Linked DNA regions of Homo sapiens: region 2 is linked to region 1. Evidence: promoter capture Hi-C in human tissues and cell types (Jung and others, 2019). All regions are on one chromosome and are shown on one strand. Each heading gives the region's core, a stretch centred on a gene start or on the middle of the fragment in contact. The rest is flanking DNA. Distances are from core to core; before and after follow the strand shown.

Region 1 (6,878 bases), core at 1,682-4,181:
GTGGCTTAAAAATCCTATCACCAAGCCAAATTCAGCCCTTAGCATGCCTCTGAAACCACCGAGGAAGACTTAGCCACTTACCAAGAACAAGGTAACCTGTGTTCTCCCGGGTGTAAACCGCGTCTCTGTGAAGGGAAAGGGGGAAGAGGGCCGGCAAGGACCTCCAGTATCAGCGAGGACTATCAGGACGTCCAGCTAATAAACGACTTTTTCACTGTCCACACTTTAATTGGTTTACAGCCTTTTTTGTTTATTTATCCATAAGAGCTGCTGTTAAATGGCTCGGGAAGGTGCTCGCCTAATGGCTCGGTATCGCTGCCGGGCCTGTTGTGGGCGAGGCGGCTTGGAGGGGGCGCAGGCGTCAGCGGGGATTCAGAGCGGAAACGCATTTCGCCTGTAATGGACTCGGCGATTTTACGATACCAGGAGCTAGATCCACGGGGAAGTACAACACACGACCTTACTAAGCGGAGGGTTCCGCTTGATGCGTTTTTTATACGGCTGTACGTGATAAAATTCCAGATAACTTTGTTTCATCTAATAATAATAATAACAATAATAAATGGTTGTTTGACCTTTGCTCCCTGGGTCCCTTCTATAGGTCGCAGGCAGCAGAAAATGCTAATTGTGAAAGTGAGAACGCGCCTCCATGGAATACCCCCGGCGATCCCCTCCTCCTCCCCCACAGCCGCGGGTACCCGGGTTTTTGCCGGCGACCGCAACCGGCGGATTTGCTTTCTGCTGAGAGCCTCTTTTCTTTCTGCAGGGCCGAGCAAAAATATTAAATGGAAGCAAATGAAGCATCGAAATGGAGACCAATTTACAGAAATGTGCAATTAGTTGAGAAGTGCAAAGTAAACACTCCGGGGGTGGCAGGCGAGGCAGGGAGCAGGGGAGGGAGAGTGGGGCGCAGACTGAGTCCAGAGTGGGTGTAGGGGTGCCCAGGGAGGAGGGGAAGGGGGAGGAAAAGGAGGGGGAGGGGAAAAGTGGCCGATCTTTGTCCTGAGCGGAGCTTGCCGTCCGCTCATAACCGCGTCGCCAAGTCAACCCTCGGCGACTCGGCAGATTATCTCCAAGGGTCAACACGCCGCGGCCAGGCAACCCCCTCCAGCCTGCCCTCCTGATCGATGTGGTCACTCGCGGCCAGGGTGATAGGGTAGAGTTCTCCGCGGCCGCAGACAATGGACTCATTGACGCGGGCGCACAGAGATTAGGTGCCCGGGCCCCACGGCCTTTCACTCTCTGCCCCCACCAAAACTGCAGGTGGCACTTTTCCCTGAAGAAATCACCGAAACTCTCCCCGCCCGCCGCCGTGCTTCCCTTGGCCTGTCTTCGGTGACAGCAAGGGCATCTACAAGCCAGGGAGCCACACATCAGAGCCACACACATGAGGCCACAGGCCAGGAAGCCACACACATGAGTTCTCACACATCGAAGCAAATGCTGAGACTATACCGGCCTCCCGCAAGAGAAGGAATCTGCAGAGAAGTCCACATTCCCGACTGGCTTTTTTGTCTTTTAATAAAAATAAAGAGTCCTCAGAATAGAGCACTCAATCCGCACTTAAAACACAAATATTTCCAGTAGGAAGAAAGAAATACATTAAGATTGACTCTCAAAGGTCTGGATGTTGGTGCGTTGTTTAGGAAAGGCGGAGCAGTGATTTTTCTCTGGCTTGGTTCTTTGTGGTTCAAGCTCTCTCTTGCTGAGACGTTTCTGCAAAGCTGTCTAGTTTTTCTAAAACCCACGGTGGCGTTTCGAGAAACGTCCTCATTTCGGGAGTATCCAGTCAGAGGCTGGTCAGGCCGCCAGGCCTAGCGGATCATGCCCAGGCAGGGGGTTGGACGTCACCGCCACCCGGAGGTCATCCATCCGCGTCAGTGGGTGCAGAAAAAGTGGCCCTGTTTAAGTCAGGACCCCAGAATGCCCAGAAGTTACTGAATGGTTTGAAGCCAAGCACAGATGTTATCATGGAAAATGCAGCGTTTTTATTTCTTTTTCTAAATATGTAACTCTTCCTCCACTTCCCCCTCTCCTGCTTGCCTTATTTCAATTGCAAGCAGAAGAGAGTGAGTGTTCTCTGCCGGCAAACTCCGCCAGGGTCCCGGCCCGTAGAGAGTCGTCAAGGGTCTGGAACCCCCGTGCCAACACCTGCCCCTGCTTCGCAGCCCCAAGAGGAAGGCCGCGTCTTTCCCCCTCGCTGTATTGGGAAGCTACGTTCCGGGCTGGCCAAATGGGCCCCAATTTTCCAAAACCCAAATTTGTAATACCCTTCAATTTTTTAAAAAAAAGAATTTAAAAAAGTCTCTGTGAATGCTTCAGAAGTTACCGTTTACACCCCAGAAGTACTTGCAGCACATCCACAAGTAAAAACACACAACGAATGCCAGAGTTTCGTGTGTTTTTTAACCGACATCTTTGTGGCTGTGAACAAACTTCATAAATAAAATAGAATCAAATGCTTCTGACCTAGAGAGCTGGGTCTGCAAACTTTTTTTTTATCGTATTCCGCAACAGTTAAATAAAAAATTAAAAACTCAACATGTCTCCTTGTAAACTACATCAATTAACAAACACACTATGTCCATTATCAAATATAATAGAAAAAATATAGGAAAATAGAAAATAGAAAAATATAGGAAAATAGAAACTTTTAAGCCACGGTGAAAATGTTTCTATAAATGAGTGGTTCTAATGTTTTCGTGAGCGCCCATTTTGGGGAGCACCGCCAGCTGCCCGTTCAGGAGTGTGCAGCAAACTCAGCTGAGAGAGAAAATTGGAACAAAAGCAGGTGCTCGCGGGTACCTGGGCCTAGCCTCTTAGTGCGGCCAGCCAGGCCAATCACGGCCCCCGGCTGAACCACGTGGGGCCCCGCGGAGCCTATGGTGCGGCGGCCGGCCCGCCGGTCCGCGCTGGCTGTGGGTTCCCTCTGAGATCAGTGCGGAGCTGTCAAAGCGAGCAGGGGTGGCGCCGGGAGTGGGAACGCCACACAGTGCCAAATCCCCGGCTCCAGCTCCCGACTCCCGGCTCCCGGCTCCCGGCTCCCGGTGCCCAATCCCGGGCCGCAGCCATGAACGGCGAGGAGCAGTACTACGCGGCCACGCAGCTTTACAAGGACCCATGCGCGTTCCAGCGAGGCCCGGCGCCGGAGTTCAGCGCCAGCCCCCCTGCGTGCCTGTACATGGGCCGCCAGCCCCCGCCGCCGCCGCCGCACCCGTTCCCTGGCGCCCTGGGCGCGCTGGAGCAGGGCAGCCCCCCGGACATCTCCCCGTACGAGGTGCCCCCCCTCGCCGACGACCCCGCGGTGGCGCACCTTCACCACCACCTCCCGGCTCAGCTCGCGCTCCCCCACCCGCCCGCCGGGCCCTTCCCGGAGGGAGCCGAGCCGGGCGTCCTGGAGGAGCCCAACCGCGTCCAGCTGCCTTTCCCATGGATGAAGTCTACCAAAGCTCACGCGTGGAAAGGCCAGTGGGCAGGTAAGCCTGGCTCCCCACCCCTTTCTCCTTTCCGGTTCTCACCCGGCCGCCTTACCTCCAAGCGCTCCCAGGAGCCTTCTCTCTGTTCCCGGCGCCTTGGATTATCCCGGGTCGGACTAAACTACATCAGGGAGCTACCGAGCCCATCCCTCACAGCAGTGCTTCTCTAGTCCAGTTTGAAGCATCTTTCCCACCCAGCTCTCCTGGGAGTGTACACTCCTTCCTTCCCTGTTCGCTGAGCCCATCTTCGCCCCAGGAGCCCGCGCTCCCAGCGCCATCCTTAGAGAGCCGAGGCTGAGTCCTGCTCAGGGCTTCGGACACTACAGATCCTCCTCCAGCAGGGGATCCGGGAACCCAGGACTCCTTGGTAGTGCACATCGAGGAAGCCGAGTAGGGACATGGGTGCCTCGGACCCAGGCCCCAGATCGCCTTCGGAGCCCCGGAGCCCCTCACTTCCCGCGCTTCGTTAAGGAAGGGCAGGCATCTAGGGGCGCCAGGTAGGTGCAGAAAGGCAGGGAGGGAAAGGAAACTGCACCCAACCCAGCAGTGTCCGGCTGCCCTGGTTGTGGAAACAGGATAGGAGTAAAGAGGAAGGGGCTGGGGCAAGGCGGGGGCTCACCGCGAGGCTGAAAGCCGGCCTCTCAACGTCAGAGCCTGGCAGCTAGGAGAGCAATCTGAGAAGCGAATTCGTTTTTCACCAACCGAAAGCAATTGAAGCTGTCTCCCCGCACCGCTTCCCAGGAAGTAATTTTTCAGGAGATGGGCGCTCCCTGCCTAGCTGGTGGGGAGGCGAGAGGCCTGGTTCCTGCGGCCCTCCGCGCCGGCAGAGAACAGAAGGTCTTTCCCGGAGCCGGGAGCCGGAGGCACGGGGTAGCCCCCGGGTCCTTTGCGGCCCCGCGCGAGCGGCAAGTTCCGGCGCGGCCTGTGTCGTCGCCGCTACTCACTGTCATCGCTGCCGTGCCTCAGCCACTTCTGGTCACACCTGCACCGCAAATAGTTGCCTTTTCCTTTCAACTGGCAGCCGGGAGTAGGGGGAAGCAGCTCGAGCCGGCGTCCCCCGGCCCACCCCGAAAATCCTCAGCGCCCATCTGCGGGGTCTGGCCAGCCCTGCCTGACACTGACCCCAGGCGCAGCCAGGAGGGGCTTTGTGCGGGAGAGGGAGGGGGACCCCAGCTTGCCTGGGGTCCACGGGACTCTCTTCTTCCTAGTTCACTTTCTTGCTAAGGCGAAGGTCCTGAGGCAGGACGAGGGCTGAACTGCGCTGCAATCGTCCCCACCTCCAGCGAAACCCAGTTGACAGGGGCGCCAGAAGCTGCCGCGGCGCCTCTGCAAATTTATCCAGCTCGCGCAGCCCGGGCCAAAGGCCTTGAAGTCTCCGGAAATGCGGGGTTCTTAGGAGGCGGGAGGACAGTCCCTCGAACAAAGGTGGGGGGCTCCTCGTCCTCACCCAGTTTTCTTCCAGGGCTGCCTCCCCTCCAGACCTCTCTTCTGGCCTCCTAGGCCCTCGGAGCTCCTGCTTTCCCACCCTGGGCCTTCCTCAGGAAATGGGCGACATCAGGGTCCCGAAAGAGGATTTGTGAGGTGGAGTAACTTCCCTATCCCAACCCAAGGGGTGATACCTCTGCTCTGGAGGACTTGGGCTTAGGCTGACCCAAGAAGCCAGAAAGTAAAACCAGAAGGCAAATCAGCAGCCTTGGCGAGGGTTCGGGGACCCAAGGAGGGCGACACTCTCGGGCTGGAGTTGGCCCCAGGCCTTTGCTGGCGCCCTCTAACCCGCTGCATGCTCGACTCTCGGGGAAGGAGACGACCTCCCCTCTCTTCCCCTGGAAGCCGTCTGCGGGGCCGGCTGCTATCCCCGCGTTCCTCTAGGGGAAACTTCGATGGAGCCGAAATTCAAAAATTGCAAACCCACCTGCCCCTGGGAAGAGCGAAGTGACAAAAGGGCTCTCACTGGCAGTACGAATCTGAATGCTAATGACAACAGAGGTTTTGAAAAACATTGACCCCCAAATGCTTCAGCAGCGCTGTCCAGCTGGCACCTAAACTGCATCACTCTGCGCCTTGGGGAAGGGCCCAGGCTTGGCGACCTTGACCTTTTCCCACCATCCTCAACCTCCACCCCTGCCGCGTCGCGCTGAGCACAGGTCCCCCGGGAATAGTGCACCCCAGGAAGTCTCTCCCTGAGCAGTCTCTCGCAGGGACTTCACGAAGCCCTCTCGCAGGGACTATACGAAGCCCGCAGCCTAAGGCAGGAACCCAGAGACATGTCGGTTTAATGTAAAAACTTTGGAGAGCCTTTCAAAATGTTTATTGAAGGCCCGTCTCGCTTCTCTCCCAGGCGTGGGATGCCAGGTAGATTCGGGGATGCCCCCAGGGAGTAGAACTCTCCCTGGACTAGGGTTTGAGCCTCTGCTTCAGCTTCTGGCGCCTCTTCTCGACCTGGGGGGAAACCCAGTAGGGTTCCATCGCGAAATTAAACCCGCCCCCAACACACACACACTCGCCTTTCAATTCCTTAAGGCTTAGCCAACATTCACAGGAGAAATGTCCCCTGCCTTTGCTCTAAGACAAGCCTCTCCCCGGAACTTTGGTGGAACTTCCCGCGCCAGCGTCCACAGCCTGGGTGCAGTCAGTATTTTCCACAGAAAAGAAAAGATTGGGACCTGGCTGAGCGCAGCGGCAAACAGTGAATGTGGGTCTCCAACCTCCTGGGCCAGGGCGTCCTGTTGCCTCTTGGAGACACGAGAGGCTTGTTTCTGCACCACTACCACCTCCTCCGTAGGGCTGTCGGTTCTGCAGCTGGGCTAGGGCCCCTGTGTCTCCCCTCAACACCTCTGAGGGCATTTGGGATCCAGGGCGTAGAGTCTGGAGCTGCCAGAGTTCTGCCCTGGCCAACGTGACCCCCAGAACAATATTCCTTCACTTCGCGGGCAGAAGTCCGGCTGAAGTTAAAACAATTATGGAGAATTTGCTGGCTCTCAGGTTGGGACTAATTACGATATAACTATAGAGAGAGGAAACACATGGTCAGATATAACAAAATGTGTCACAGTCTCCATTAGCACAAAGATTTTCAAACTGCAGGTTGCACCCATTCGCAGGTCATAAAATCAATTTACTAGGTTGAGATTAGTATTTTTTAAACGAAATAGCAGATAATGGAGAGAAAAGTAGATAGCATCATACGTGGTAAACGTTTGTTTTATGTCCTTAAGATTTGTCAGTATAACTGACCTGCAGTGTCCGTGTGTGAACTACACAACGATCCGAAATGTATTTCTCACATTTGTGGGTCACCATCAGGAGGTTTTTTTTAGCCCTGGATTAAAGGCGTTTTATTGCCTTTGTAGGATCCAGCCGGTTTAACTATTATATACATTTAAATCAACATCAATCAGTTGA
Region 2 (6,878 bases), core at 1,326-3,825, 91 kb before region 1:
TCTGCTCCCATGGGGACCTGGAACTTATTTGGAACTCAGCAGTCCCTGCTCTTTCTTCCCTTCCTGCTCCCCCACCTACCTAAAATCCCAGGAGCTAGCAAAGGACAAAGGCTCTCCCCAGAGCTTCTGCCACACAGGGGTGCTGATGGGTGGGCTGCAGGTGGGCCTGAGCCCCTGCCCCCCTTAGCTCCGGCTGATTCTGTTTGTCGCCGACCTCAGCTGACTGGATGCTGTCATGGTGGCATGGCGATTATTATAGGCATCTCGGTTATATTACATTACGGTCTTCTCACTTTATTGAGATCATCTCAATTACTGCTCAAAGATTAGTGCAAGCTGCCATGACTCATATGCATCCGGTGTTTACTCTTACTTCATGGCCCTAGTAGTGCTGTATTGATGCCAAAGCGTGAGAGACTGTCACTTGATTACGATTTCCAAAGGCTACTGTAATGAATCTGGCCCAATTCCTGACTTGGCTTGGACAAGCCTCCTCCCTCCTCCACCCACTATCCCATTCCTAGGTTCCATTTTCACTTTAGTTCTTCTACCAGAGTTAGATGCATGTTTTCCTTAATCTTTACATTTAAAAATAAAATTAAAATGCAAAGTCGTCACATGAAAACACACTTCTCAATTTTCTTTTTTTAAATATCCCAAACATCAAAACAGTACTACTCAATAAACACCCTCATCAAGTGCTATGAATACACCAGTTGGCATCAGATGCGTCTCCCTAGACAGCAACGTTTCTGTGTCCACGGATCAACAGTCCACTTATGACAGAGCTTCCGATTCAGGCAGGCCCTGGCAGGCTAATTTCACCTCCATAATTTTATATGCAAGTTAATGCTACTCCCTGAAACTGCTCTTCCCTGAGTTCTGCCTGTCAGGGATGGAGATGGAGAAGCTATCCATAACACTTCTCTCCTCCTTAGCCCCACAGGCAACATGCCAGCCTGTCCTCCACTCTGCCTTCAAAGCATGCTCTGCGGCTGGCGACTTCCTGCCACTTGGACTGCTACCACCAGGAACCAATTTCCCATCTATCTTCAGCTCCAAGGCTCCTACCCTCACCCTGCCTCCCTCCTGTCACACCAGCCAGAAGGATCCTTGCAAACCCCACCTCAGATCATGTCAATTACTAAAAATAAATTCAGGGGCTCTCCACTGCACTCTGTAATTTGACTCAAAATTATTAGCTTGGCCCTCCAGGGTTCACCTAATCCGCCCTCTGCCTAATTCTCCAACCTTCTTTGGGGTTTCTGCTCTCCCCATTCCTGATGATCCAGCCACATGCCTCTCCTGGAATTTATGCCACCTTCCCATCTCAGAGTCATGGTTCAGCGTTTTTCACTGGTTTATTCTTATTTATCCTGCAGGCTCAGCTTTAATGTTCCTCCTGTGAGCTCACAACCTATATTATTCTTTCTCATTGCAACATGTTCTTTGCATTTACATGCAACCATTTGTGTATCTATTGTGTATGATCCCTCGGGGGCTGATACATTTTGGGACAGGAAGGAAAGCATCCTTTTGTATGAGATGTATCCCCAGTACCAAGCTCCAGGGTCAGCTGGAGTAGTTGTTGAGTTGACATGGATGGAATTGGTGAAGAAATGAATGGGCTGTATAAGGTTGACAGTATTCACTCATAAAGGTTTAGTGACTTGACTCCTGCCACACCCTCAGCAAGCAGACATGCAGTTCCTAGGTGAACTGCACCATCTGGAAGACTCCCTAGGAGAAGAAATGGGGAGAGGGGCTGCAGGAGGCAGGTTAGAAAATTCTAGAACAGTTGGTTCTCCAAGACAGAGTCCCCTTAGAGTGGGGCTGTAAAGATATGTGAGAAGCATAGTCAATGTTCACACTTGTGCTAGCTTTGGCAGCACATATACTAAAACTGAAACAATACAGAGAAGATTAGCATGGCCCCTGTGCAAGGATGACATGCAAATTCGTGAAGCGTTCCATATTTTTTAGTGGAAGCAATTTTGGAGGTAGTGGAAGCTACAATGATTTTGGCAATTACAATAATCAGTCTTCAAATTTTGGACCCATGAAGGGAGGAAATTTTGGAGGCAGAAGCTCTGGCCCCTGTGGTGGTGGAGGCCAATACTTTGCCAAACCACGAAACCAAGGTGGCTATGGTGGATCCAGTAGCAGCAGCAGCTATGGCTTTGGCAGAAGATTTTAATTAGTAAACAAAGCTTAGCAGGAAGGGAGAGCCAGAGAAGTGACAAGGAAGCTACAGGTTACAAGAGGTTTGTGAACTCAGCCAAGCACAGTGGTGGCAAGGCCTAGCTGCTACAAACAAGTCATGTTTTAGACAAATACTCGTGTATGGGCAAAAAACTTGAGGACTGTATTTGTGACTAATTGTATAAGAGGTTATTTTAGTTTCTGTTCTGTGGAAAGTGTAAAGCATTCCAACAAAGGGTTTTAATGTAGATTTTTTTTTCACCCATGCTGTTGATTGCTAAATGTAATAGTCTGATCGTGACGCTGAATAAATGTCTTTTTTAAAAAATGTGCTGTGTAAAGTTAGTCTACTCTGAAGCCATCTCGGTAAATTTTCCCAACAGTGTGAAGTTAGAATTCCTTCAGGGTGATGCCAGGTTCTATTTGGAATTTATATGCAACCTGCTTGGGCGGAGAAGCCATTGTCTTCAGAAACCTTGGTGTAGTTGAACTGATAGTTACTGTTGTGACCTGAAGTTCACCATTAAAAGGGATTACTCAAGCAAAATCGTGGAATTATTGGTGATAAAAGTGATTGTTGGCACATCCTATGCAATATATCTAAATTGAATAACGGTACCAGATAAAATTAGAGATGGGAATGAAGCTTGTGTGTCATCCATTATCATGTGTAATCAATAAACGATTTAATTCTCTTGAAAAAAAATGTTCACACTTGTTGGGAAAAAAAGTCTCCCTTGGTTTCATAATGCAGAATGTTGAAAGTAAGGCTCTCCCTATGACGCCCTTAGCCCCACCTCCACCCCCAAATAACGGGAAATACGGGCCGTCTTCTCTGAAGGAAGATTTTTGGGTTTATCCGAAGAAGGCAGGTGTAAAAAGCGACTGGGAAACAGCAATATGCCCTTCTGCCTCTCCTCTGAGCAGAGCGAAAGGCTGCTGGCCACGGGAATGTGGGTCTCGGTGATCCCCGCAGCCCGCAGGCCCCACGGACCCAGGAGAGGCCGGCGCGGAGCCTGGGGCGGACTAACAGCAGAGGGCGCCATAGAGCAGGCCGCGCCCGGCAGGTGCGGCCCCCGCGCCCGGGTGAAGTCCGCTGGCCGGGAGCAGTTCCAGCCAGACCCTGCAGCTCTCAGACTGGGGCGGCCCTCTCCCTTGCCCTCCTCTGCTCGGCTGTGATTTCGCTGTGCTTCTGTGGGAGAAAATGCTATAAGTGACTCTATGGACATCCGTAAAAATAAATGCCAGCTACTATGACTATTCAGGTGTACAGGTGACATGCGATATTCAGAAAGAAGCTAAGAGTCTGGGGTAAGGGTGGGAAGGGGGATGTGGTTCGTTGTTTTTTGTTTTTCTGCTTGGCTTGTGGAGTCCGTTCAGTGTGTAGTGCTTTTTGTTTGTTTGGTTGGTTTTTTTAATGTCTTAGGTTAAATTTTGTCTTTCTGGGAAAAGCTACTTTGGTTAAAATTTGTCTTTCTGGGAAAAGCTACTTTTTCCCAGGATGATTTGACACAACACTGGTGCAATGCACTAACTTAGATCAAAGAAAACGGGCTGAAGAGACCATTTACCCACATGTAAATCCCAGTAGGCCGTTTTTTAAAGAACCTCCGCCGGGATTGGGAGTCATTCAATCAAGGAGCGTTAGAGCTGGAAGAAACTTTTGAAATTAAACCGCCTTTTTATTATTAGATTAAAAAGGAGGCCCAAAGAGGAGAAGGAACTTGTCCAAAGTCACAGCACCTTTGAATGCAGTGGGGCTGATTTCCAGTCTGGGGCACAAGGGAAACTTTTAGTGAAAGGTTGGTGGTGTGTGTTGTTAAGCTTTCATTCTATTCTCTATTATATAAACATTGTAAGGAAAATTGAGAAGATGCCATTATTTTAATTGCCAGAAATCCTCCCACATCAAGGCGATCATTGTTAATATTTTTGCTCTATAATTTTCCAGCCTTTTAAACTTATATATCAAAACTTGTATCAATACAAATTTATATCAGTTTACTAACACTGGATTACACCATCCTTATTGCTTTGCAACTACTTTTTTTTTTTGATCATCAATATAGCTTGAACACTTTTCCATGTCAACTAATATATATCTACATCATAATTTCTAACAGATGCATAACTATTCCCTTCAATGGGTGCACCTTCATTAGTTTAATCAAACCCTTATTGATGGGCATATAAGCTTTTTCCAATGTTCAACTTTTTTTTTTTTTTTTTTTTGAGATGGAGTCTGGCTCTGTCACCCAGGCTGGAGTGCAGTGGCATGATCTCAGTTCACTGCAAGCTCTGCCTCCCAGGTTCAAGCAATTCTCCCGCCTCAGCCTCCTGAATAGCCGGCATTACAGATACCTTCCATCACACCCGGCTAATTTTTGTATTTTAAACAGAGACGCGGTTTCACCATGTTGGCCAGGCTGGTCTAGAACTCCTGACCTCAGGTGATCTGCCCGCCTCGGCCTCCCAAAGTGCTGGGATTACAGGAGTGAGCCACCACACCCGGCCCAATGTTAAACTTTTATAACACATTTGCATTAAATATTCTTGTCCGTACATCTTTTGCACAGGTAATGTCCACCTATTGATGGGTGTGGCTTTTTGTAGGAATGCAGTGTGATGGTGTAGGCTGGGCTTGGACACTGCCTTGCAAACTTTCTGCATCTTTACACAAGCCACAACCTTACTAGGCCCCAATTCTCTCATCTTCAGGTGGAGGTGATCATAGTGCTTGTCTCCTAAGGGTGTTGGGAGGATTCAATGAGGTCATATATAGAAAGTGATTGGTCAGTGCCAAGCACAAACACGTCCTATATAAATGTGAACTCTTAGAATATTACTATCATTACCTCAAACCCTGAAGATTGGCTCAAAATAACCCTCATGGTTTTATTTTACTCTGATTGAGAGTAACTGGATTTCATGAAGAAGTGTTTAAGTGCTAAACTCTAGTAGCTAAAGCAATATCTCCTTTCTTTCTAACTTAATTCATCCAGAGGAAAAAATAATGATAAACGTAAATGGTGGATGGGTTCTTCAGCTACTTGTTATGTTCTGGTCATATAGCTTAATGCTAGCCCAAAGAGAAAAGTCTATATTGGCAAGGATGTGGAGAAATTGGAGCACACTATTGGTGGGAATGTAAAATGGTGTAGCTGCTATGGAAAACAGAATGACAGTTTCTTAAAAAATTAAACAGAATTACAATACGATCCCGAAATTTCACTTCAGGGTATATACGCAAAAGAATTGGAAGCAAGGACTTGCAGAGATGTTTGTATGTGTTCATAGCAGCATTATTCACAATAGTCAAAGGTGGACATAACCCAAATGTCCATCAGTGAATGAATGGATAAACAAAATGTGGTATACACATACAATGACATATTATTCAGCCTTAAAATTAAAGGAATGCGTACCACCTGCTACAACATGGATGGACTTTAAAGACATCATGCTAAGTGAAATAAGCCAGTCACAAAGGGACAAATATGGTATTATTCCACTCATGAGATACCTAGAGCAGTCAAATTCATTAAGACAAAAGGAGAATGATGGTTTCCAGGGGCTGGAGGAGGTGGCGGGGATGAGGCTGCTGTTTAATGGGTGCGGAGTTTCAGTTTTGCAAGATGAAAAGAGTTCTGGAGATGATGGTGGTGATGGTTGCACAACAATGTACCTAATGCCACTGAACTGTCCATCAAATGGTTAAGTTGGTAAACTTTGTGATATGCATGTGTTACCACAATTAAAAACAAAATTCTAAAAGAAAGAGGCATAGTGTCTCATTGAAGGTTCTTAAGTTCCCTTCCTAAGCATCAAGTCTTTTGTGATAGATAAAGCCCCCTCTGATCCCTTCTCCTTTGGAAAATGCTCAAAGCACAGCCTCTGGCTTCCCAGTGCCTTCGAACTCGTCTCCTCTGTTTTGTCCTTATATCCAGGGTCATCACCATTTCACAGGCCTAAGCAGTGAGGGGGTGAACACTGTAGCAGAAGCCGTGGTCTCTGAAAGTTTGTTTTTAATCTAGGAAGATGCCATGAGTCACCAGGACACATTTCAGGTTCATATTCCCATCTGAGGCATTGGAAACCCATTCCTACCAACCAAATGTATGAGTTACCCACATTTCTTCTGCTCGGTCCCCACCCTCACCTTCCGTCTCTCTCCCTCCCTCCTCTCACAGGTTGCATCATCCTCCCCAGACAGGAATGGGCTGATGGCACTCTGCTCAGAATATCTCCTGGTTCCCTGTACATGCAGGATGAACACCCGCCCGAAAAGTCTTCCACAGCGCGGCCACTCCTCTCCCTCTTCCTTTCACCCTGAGGCCTGCTGCACTCCTCACCTGCTCCAGGAGAGCAGAGCCTGTGGTTTCCTGGCCCAATGGACCTTCCCCATCTCCAGACATGCTTTACACATCTCCAGCCCAGAGCCTTCGCACAAGCCTTTCCTGCTGTGTTCACTGTGTTGAATTCCTGTTCCTCTTCCTTATCCAGGCTCAGTTCTCACTCCTAATTTAATGATGTGGCAAGTCTCTGAGTTAGAGATAGCTCTCATCTGTATCAGGGGAGAACTAATATACACAACAACAATAGCGCACATTGATCAATTACTGACTGTGCCAGGCACTGTTCTGTGCATGTGCTCTGCATGTACAATTCTGGTTTCC

What was found. The method cuts DNA at HindIII sites, captures the fragments that hold promoters and counts their contacts. A contact is called where the count stands out against the background at its distance.
Region 2: a contact is called between a fragment that was not itself captured here and the fragment with the promoter of PDX1 in region 1, in 3 of the 25 tissues and cell types used here (H1 embryonic stem cells, mesendoderm cells and small bowel).

What each region holds. Positions count from the first base shown.
Region 1 is chr13:27,917,069-27,923,946 of GRCh38, forward strand. It overlaps PDX1 (pancreatic and duodenal homeobox 1), which reads left to right and starts at 2,932. Exons shown (of 2, transcript NM_000209.4): 1 at 2,932-3,476. The coding sequence starts at 3,071. It overlaps PLUT (PDX1 associated lncRNA, upregulator of transcription), which reads right to left and starts at 223. Exons shown (of 5, transcript NR_047484.2): 1 at 82-223. RefSeq lists an enhancer at 6,734-6,878. The HindIII fragment of the contact is 14,480 bases long and covers 1-6,878 here.
Region 2 is chr13:27,826,890-27,833,767 of GRCh38, forward strand. The region is part of intron 3 of PLUT (PDX1 associated lncRNA, upregulator of transcription); the gene reads right to left. LOC124903139 (a long non-coding RNA gene) reads left to right here and starts at 3,321. Exons shown (of 2, transcript XR_007063734.1): 1 at 3,321-3,513; 2 at 6,393-6,878. It also overlaps the pseudogene RNU6-73P. RefSeq lists an enhancer at 1-474. The HindIII fragment of the contact is 3,272 bases long and covers 940-4,211 here.